Regions from separate parts of the Homo sapiens genome. Here region 1 is linked to region 2. Evidence: promoter capture Hi-C in 16 types of primary human blood cells and fetal thymus (Javierre and others, 2016). All regions are on one chromosome and are shown on one strand. The core of a region is centred on a gene start or on the middle of the fragment in contact, and the rest is flanking DNA. Distances in the headings are between cores, read along the strand shown. Region 1 has its middle 32 kb from the start of LINC02131. Region 2 holds the start of ADAMTS18 (ADAM metallopeptidase with thrombospondin type 1 motif 18).

Region 1 (4,441 bases), core at 580-3,079, 120 kb before region 2:
TTCTGCTGTGATTCCCAACCACGTTATGGTGAGATGACAGAGGGAACTGGGCCTGTCCATCTCTCCTCCTGTCCCTTCAACAATGATGGAACCTGTACGGTGTATGAGGAGAAAAGCATGGTGCTTCCTCTCTAGCTGGAGAGAGAATTTTCATACCCAAGTGCTTTAGTATAGCCATACATAAATCATTGCCATGTGTCTTTGATCTTCACAGAATTCAAGGCTGTAGGAAAGGAGAGGGATTACTTTATGTGGAGTAAACAATGTTAAATCCCTAATAGGAGAAGGAGGATTAAAGAAGGACCTTGGAAAATGGAAGGGCATAAGGAATATAAAGGTATTTCACCAAAGAAGAAATATAACTGGTTGAAAAACGTGGACCCAAATTCAACTTCATAAGTAAACATAAGTAAGCTATATGTTTTATAATATTGACAAAGATTTTTTCCTTCAATGAAATTCCCTAAAGCCTGACAAGAATAAACTAGTCACATTCAAACATAATGGGGAGTCTGATATGCCATCTCATCCATCTGCTAGCTAAAGGGTTACCAAAAAAGATGCTCATATTGATATATTATTATTAACCAGCAAAACATGGGAAAACGTTCCAAATTACCCAAAACAAGGGGATAGTTAAATGATTGTTGGTGGACAAAAATTACATAGCTCTCCTGAGTGACATATATGAAGAGTTCATAACAACATTACTAAGTTCTTAGGAATTATTAAATGCAAAATTTAAGAGAAAATGTTTGCATACAATGAAAGTGATTTCAAATGCACATAATAAAGCATAAAGGGTCGGGTGCGGTGGCTCATGCCTGTAATCCCAGCACTTTGGGAGGCCAAGGCATGCGGATCACCTGGGGTCAGGAGTTGGAGACCAGCCTGGCCAACATGGCAAAAACCCATCTCTACTAAAACATACAAAATCAGCGGAGTGTGGTGGCGCACGCCCCTGTAATCCCAGCTACTTAGGAGGCCTAGGCAGGAGAATTGCTTGAACCTGGGAGGTAGAGGTTGCAGTGAGCCGGGATTGCACCACTGCACTTCAGCCTGGGCTACAGGGCAAGACTCTTTATCATGGTGGGGTGGGGTGTGAGGAAAATAAAAATATAAAAAAGCATAAAGGAAATAGATCAGTGTGCTACCAGGAGTTATTCTCAATATTTAACAATTAAAAGAAAAATATGTAGATTTCTACTACCAAAATTCATTTCACGACTTTTATAAGTGACAGAATCTTCAAATATGCCTAACAAACCATCAGGGCTAGATAAACAGGAGGTAGTTTCAGTTTGCATTAAGCTTGGGCTGTCCCATCCATGCCTTCCTCATTCATGGGTGGGGATTTGATTGGAGAGAGCCACATTCTGGAGAAAAACAAAACTCACAGTATGAATCTACCTTCTCAGAATTGCAGATCCCAAAACCCAAGAATAAGCTGAGTGCGGTGGCTCACATCTGTAATCCCAGCACTTTGCGAGGCTGAGGCACGCAGATCGCCTGAGGTAAGGAGTTAGAGACCATCCTGGCCAATGTGGTGAAACTCTGTCTCTACTAAAAATATTTTAAAAATTAGCGAGGCGTGGTGGTGTGCACCTATAATCTCAGCTACGCAGGAGGCTGAGGCAGGAGAATCATTTGAACCTGGGAGGTGGAGGTTGCAGTGATCTGAGATTGCACCAGTGCACTCCAGCCTGGACGACAGAGCAAGACTCCATCTCCAAAAGAACAACAACAATAACAACAACAAAAAACCCCAAGAGTATATCCGTGGGGGAAAAATAACACTGCATTTAAAACAAAAGAAAACCAAAGCCACCATAACTTTTTCTTTTCTTTCTACTTTCTCTGTGTTGAGAAAGTAGGAGGGAGACGTGATTCCAGGGTTGTCCCTGACACTTGCTCACTATGTGAGCCTGGTCAAAAATCTCCACTATCTGGGCCTCAGTGTTCCCATCTGTAAAATGTATTGGAGTCAACTCTGAACAACAGGAGATGGGACCCAAGCCAGCTGTTTTTAAGAAGGAAATTTCTTAAGGATAAACAAGAGACCACAAAAATCCATGTATGTTTGTGTTTATTCTACTATAATAACTTCCAAGAAACTTTGCACAGCAGTAGGATGCAATGTAATCAAATGTTGGCATGGAGTGGAGACTGTGGCAACTCCTGTTTCAGAAAACGGGATATTTAATTGATCTCCACAGCCCCTTCCAGGCTTAGCACCCTTGCATCTCTGGGGTTTGAGTTCCCGTTTATATCCTTCTAAGATGGGCATCCAAAGTCCAGAAATACCTCAGCAACTGTTGTTCATGCTAAGAAAATAGTTGAAGCTTCTCTCCTTCTCTAGGCCAAGATCTTGGTGAAGTGTCTTGTGCATTTCACACAAAGCATATGGTATTTTCTCAACTATCAAGAATTTGTGAGAAAATCTAGTATCTATTAATACATGTACAATCCCATTATCTTTCTGAGACAGAATCTTGCTTTGTTGCCCAGGCTGGAGTGCAGTGGCATGATCTCGGCTCACTGCAACCTCCCCCTCCTGGGTTCAAGTGATTCTTATGGCTCACTCTCCCAGATAGCTGGAACTACAGGCGTGCATCACCTCACCCAGCTAATTTTTGTATTTTTAGTAGAGATGGGGATTTGCTGTGTAAGGCTGATCTTGAACTCCTGACCTCAAGTGATTCGCCTGCCTTGGCCTCCCAAAGTACTGGGATTACACACGTGAGCCACCATGCCTGCCCCAATCCCATTCTCTATCAACCCCAAACTTAGGGCCCAGTTAAGACTTTCACAGCACTAAGAAAGATGTTAACACTACTACCACTAAGTATAAAAAGAATACATAATAATGTTAATAATAGCAATTAGGGATACAAACACTGCTCATAATGTTAACAATATTAACTGAATCTGTTAAAGATTTTTAGATGCAAGCTACTTCTCTGAGTAATTAGCAAAAAGAAATTTAGTAGAAACATGTAGTCTTGCTTGTAGGATCGAAGGAAGAATGGGACAATCAGACAGTAGCAAAGACAGGAATCAGGGCTTTTTATGGGATGAGATAGCAAGAAGAAATAGCTTCTTTGGGATGACAATATTGATGTGAATCATCTCCATCCATGCAATTCAACCTAGATTGTCAGGAGAAAGAGTAGACAATGCTGTCTGAATTTTCAGATGCATTACCCAGGAGAAAAATTTCTACCTTTTTTGAACATTTGTATGATGACCTACATGAAGACCTGTGCTAACAGTTTGTTGACGTATTCCAATCTCCAGCACAAACTTTCAAAGAAGTATTAATATATCTTTTCTACAGATAAAGCCCTTGTGGCTCAGAGAAGTTTAGTAACTTGCACAGGGTCACACAGCACAGTTGCTGAGACTCTAATCTGGGTCTTTCTTTGTCCAGTCGGCCATCCAGGCTGCTCTCCATGGTTCTTGCTCATCAGAAGATGAACCTCTCATGGTCCAAACCCTCCCTAGTTAATTCACAGAGCATCTTCAAAGTAATTAGATTTTCTTTCTCCTATATTTTGCAAAGTTTGATGACCTGAATCAAAAGGAAAAAGTTCATTGTGACAGCAAATCTCTCTGCATGGCTACCAACTTGCTCTTCTGCAATTCAACATTTATTCTTTTTCTTTCTAGAAACAGCCCGGCATTATAGTAGATATTCATTTATTTGCATAATGTTTGATTCCCTACATGAGTCTATGCTCCAAAAGAGCAAAGACTTTGTCTCCCAATTTCTAAAAGAGGCTCTTGATAAAATATTTCTTGAAGGAATGGCTGCAGCTGGCAGAAGCAAACCAGGTCGCAGATTTCACTCCTTCCCTTGTCCAGTAACCGATTCAAGACGTATTCTCCAAACCAGCAATTCCTCCTACTTCCCTATTTTTGGTAATTACTCCTCGGCATCCTTACCAACATCTGTTGTTTTTTTGACTTTTTATATTCACCATTTTGACTGAGGTGAGATGGTTTCTCATTGTGGTTTTAGTGTGCATTTATCTGATGATGACTGATGTTGAACAGTTTTTCATATGTTTGTTGGCTGCTTGTATGTTGTCTTTTGAGAAATGTCTGTTTCTATTCTTTGCCCACTTTAAAAATACACTTTTTATTGGAATGGTTTTAGATTTACAGAAGAGTTACAAAGATGCCAGAGAGTGTCCTTACACTCCACATTGTTCCCCCCATAGCTAACATTGAATGTGTCTATCAGTTCCTGCAAACTAAAACACTCACAGTGGTACATTTGTCAAAATGAAGAAACTGGCATTGGTACCGTACTGTTAACTAAATTTCAGACTTAACTAGTTTTCCTGTTAATGTTGTCTTTCCATTCCAGGAAACAATCCAGAGTGCCATATTGCGTTAAGTCATCATGCCTTTCTAGTCTCCTTTGATCTGTGACAGT
Region 2 (4,320 bases), core at 1,418-3,917:
GGAATCTGTACTATTTATCCAGGTTCTCACCTAGGGGAATTTTACCCACCAGGAAACATTTGGAAATCTCACAACATTTTGTTGCATTTTGGGGGCTGCTACTGGCATTTAGTGAAGTAGAGGCCAGAAATGCTGCTAAACATCCTATGTTTATAATGTACAGGATGATAGCCCCTACCACAAATGATTATCCAGCCCAAATCTCAGTACTGCTGAGATTGAGAAATTCCACAATTGAGCATAGAGCATAGTTAAGGGTTGTTCTCCGAGACTTCAGCCCTGACCATGGCAAGTAACCTATATTGTTAGCCCTAAAAGAGGAGGATCAGAAAAATATGGACAATTTCATGCAAATGTATCTTAATGGAGAGACACAAATCAGGGCCATGGTTATTTTTAGCTGAGTGTGGACAAGCCCTTCACCCTCCAGGTTCCGTCAGTGTTCACCTGATGATGTCGCTGACAGTGCTGTCAATCCCAGTCTCCTGTTTTATTCAGTCCGTTGCTTGGTGATGTGACCTCCAGCAGTGTTTTACTGCATGTCTTTGATGTCCAGTTTCCTCTTGTGTCCAGTTCTTCATGGAATCATATGAAGCACTTAAGTCACTTGTGTCTGAATCACCCACAAGTGCTTACTACAAATGCATGCTTGGGCCCTACACCAAATCCATGGAATCAGAATCACAGTGCTTCATGGCCTGGAAATCTGCATTTTTAAGCTAGCATTACAGGTGATTTTGACGTATATTCAAGTTTGACACAGGATGTATGAAATAACAGAAATACACCATCACTTCTTAAAGTCCACTTATAATGTGCTTTGAAAAATATATTCACTTACCCCTCAGGCTATCCTTTTGATGTAGCATGTTGATTCCTATTTTACAGATTATAAAACAGAGGCCACAGAGCTTAACCAGATTAAGTAGGGAAACCCAAATGATTTGTTTAGCCCTGATGTTCTGTGAGGCTTAGCTTCATGTTCCTTAGGCAGACACATCACCTTCTCTGCCGCTACAGCCTGGGTTTACCTCTTCCCAGCTGCATTCCATAAAACCGACTATGTGTATTGAGCTATCACTTAATCGAGGCTTGACATAGACCTCATGTTAACTACTTCAGTACCCACAGGACTGAGCAGAGTAATACATCTACTTCCACTACCACTACCCTGGTCCAAGCAAGACACTGTCATTGTACCCCTTCATGCCAGCAACAGCTGCGTGGTTTGTTTCTCTCTGACCCTGCCTCAGCTCGTCCAATCCCTACACTCGCTCAAAAAATGGTTCACATTTTTTTATTATTGGATATGATGTTGCCTCCTACACATACACAAACCCACATTCATTTAAATCTAATGGTTTCCAACATGCTTCGCCCCAGCTTACAAGGTCCAGCTGACCCAGCAACTGCTGTGTTTGCTTCTTCCTCTGGCCTGTAACACTTTTCACGTGGCAATCACTTAACTACCTTGAGACCTTCACTTATGCTGTGCCCCCTGTCCTAACATGCAAGATCCTACTCCCCTCTTCCCTTATAAAACCGATCCACTCTCTCTGGCCTTATTTTAAGTGTCAGCTCCTAACAGATGCCTTGCACGTGTATGTATGCGTGTGTGTGTGTATATATATGTGTGTGTGTATATATACACCCACACACACACACACACACACACACACACACACACATCTTATCCCATCTAAATTAGATTCTGCTGCCATCTAATTTAGGAGACTATTCTTTTCCTTTTTAGTATTTGTGTTCATTTTGCTTCTATTACCGTTGTCGAGCTATCCAATCAGATTCGTTTCCACTGGCCCGTGAGACTGTATTTTGTTCACCTCTGCAAACAGGGATCAAAGGATCAAATAAATGTCTTGAGTAAACGAACAGGCACACAGCAAACTGGATGCACATTCCTAGTGATGGCGTGCGCTGTTTGTTATAACTGATTTCTGTGGGTTTGGGTATCTGGGGCCAAGATTCAATCTCGAAGAGTGGGAAGCACGGTCACGTCAAGAAGAGAGAGAGAGATCCGGGAGAAGAGGGAGGCCCCCGCGTGCCATGAGTTTTTACATGCTGCAGACAGTGACAGCTCATTGTTCTGGTCCTCCCGGCTGCCTCAGATTTGCTGACTCTGGGAAGCTAGGTCAGCTTGTGCGCATCTGAGCCTCCTTTTCCTCATCTTTATCAAGGAATTAATAATTCCCACCTGAAAAAGGTAGGGCCTGAGGCAAATGCGATACAGCAGGGGATAGCTCCCAGCACTTAGGAGGTGTTGAGGACGCTATCTTGACTCTTTGCCAGAAGAGTTGAAAATGAGAAGTCTGCACAGGCAGCGAAAAAGTCGCGCCACTCACCTGAGCCTTTCGTCTTCCGAACTCATCTCCCAGTGCGCTTAAATTACGTTTTCCAAGCCTGACCCTGGGCGCTCCCCTCCTTCTCATGGCGGTCGGTCCCTCCCTCCCTATCACTCCCACCCAGCCTCCCCGCCCCCTTCGCCCCCTCCCTCAGAGCTGGAGCCGGGAATCCCACGCCCTTGCACCAGCCCGGGGGCTCGGACGAGCCCGGGAGCCGCTGGTCGCCAATCACCGCGCGGTGGAGAGGCGGGCGCTCGGCTCCGGCGCGCTGGGGGAGCCAGCTGGCGCTGTCTTCCCCATCGCCTCAGACGCTCACACCGACACAGACAGACGCACAGACGGGCGGGCAGACACCGACAGTCTCCCAACCGTTTGCGCTCCAGTCCCGGCCCAGGGAGCCCCCCGTACCCTCTGGGGTGCCGCAAACTGCAGCTCGGCAGGCCCGCGCCGGGAGAAGGGAGGGCGCGCAGGCGGCCGGAGGAGGGGAGGTCCCAGCGCGCCCCCGCTGCGATGTGAACGGCGGCGGCTCTCACCTGGAGCCGCACCTGGGGCGCCGAGCTCCGGGGCCGCGGAAAGAATGCGCGCCGCCCGTGCGCTCCGCCTGCCGCGTCTGGCCACCCGCAGCCGCCGCGTCCGCACCTGACCATGGAGTGCGCCCTCCTGCTCGCGTGTGCCTTCCCGGCTGCGGGTTCGGGCCCGCCGAGGGGCCTGGCGGGACTGGGGCGCGTGGCCAAGGCAGGTGCCGCCGAGCGGAGCTCCGAGAGCGGGTGGCAGGGGGCGCCCGACGCCAGCCCCGCCGCGCCCCTCACGCGCGATGTCACCTTTTCTCTTGCAGGCGCTCCAGCTGTGCTGCCTCTGCTGTGCGTCGGTCGCCGCGGCCTTAGCCAGTGACAGCAGCAGCGGCGCCAGCGGATTAAATGATGGTTCGTATTTGCCCCCCATCCCCAAGAAGGGCCTTTCGCAGCACTTTGACCCTTCCTTCCCCCAAAGAGAGAAAAGATGGAAAAGCGCACCCCCTAACCTGGCAGGTGTGCGCTGTCTTGGAAATGGTTCCTGTTTGGAGAGGGGGGAAGGTTGGCAAGGACTGAACTTATCAAAAGAATCAACGCCCCGAGCTGCAAGTCACATAAAAGCAAATACTCTCCCTCCTTCACAGGTGGCTTGTTAAGAAGAACAAGAAAAAAAAAAAAATCCTAACTGCAGTGAGAAATTCGAAGGGAAGTGGACATTAACTAAGGAATTACTTATTTCCTCCCTCTCCTAACTCTTGTTGGGGGAAGCTAATTCTTAGTGGGAGATGAAAGAATGTGAGCCTCTTTCCTCTCTCCATCTTTCCTCATTTTTCTCTCGACTTCTGTTCCTTTTCTATCTCTTCTTTTTTTTTCATTTCTGCTTCCCTTGTTTTACGGATGTCTAAGGCTGCTTTTAGAGAGAGGAAAGCAGGTGACTTCAGGTCTCTGAGTCCTTTATCTATCTTTTCTGACGTTCGCCAGCCACAAACTTCCAGAAAATCCCTCACTTCTGACATTTATTAACTTCCCAGTGGAGCCCAGAGGGAAATCCTTGTTTTGATTGTTTCCCATCAGCTACAGGAGAACAGCTGATTCCTGACGCAAGGTGTCTAGGAAAACCTTACAGCTCAACCTGGATTCTTTAGAATTCTGTAATTTTTAGTTTTGCAAGGTTATCTCCTTTTCTTGTCAGGGGAATGGGGAGTGGGGCAGGATGGAGTCATGGAGAAGGGATTCACCTTTTGTCCAAACAGAGAGGCTGCAGTTTCTAAAACCACCCCTCATTCTTATATCAGGATCAGATGGCTGGAGGCCACGTCCGACCCAGCCACAACCTTGTAAGGACCTCACCCTTACTCACCTCCTGAAGTGGTCAATCAGAGATCACTCTTTACAGGGGACACTGACTGCCCTTCTTCCATCAAGAACCGAATGTAACCGACAGCCTG

The links. Contacts are between HindIII fragments. The CHiCAGO score rates a contact against its expected background, and 5 or more counts as called.
Region 1: a fragment that was not itself captured here is called in contact with the fragment with the promoter of ADAMTS18 in region 2 in 1 of 17 cell types (endothelial precursors); the score reaches 5.6 in endothelial precursors.

What each region holds. Positions count from the first base shown.
Region 1 is chr16:77,556,591-77,561,031 of GRCh38, reverse strand. No RefSeq gene overlaps it. Among named protein-coding and RNA genes, the nearest start is that of LINC02131, 32 kb to the left of the region's middle. The HindIII fragment of the contact is 1,031 bases long and covers 1,314-2,344 here.
Region 2 is chr16:77,433,381-77,437,700 of GRCh38, reverse strand. ADAMTS18 (ADAM metallopeptidase with thrombospondin type 1 motif 18) reads left to right here and starts at 2,667. Exons shown (of 23, transcript NM_199355.4): 1 at 2,667-3,095; 2 at 3,196-3,283. The coding sequence starts at 3,006. RefSeq lists an enhancer at 2,471-2,971. The HindIII fragment of the contact is 7,514 bases long and covers 1-4,320 here.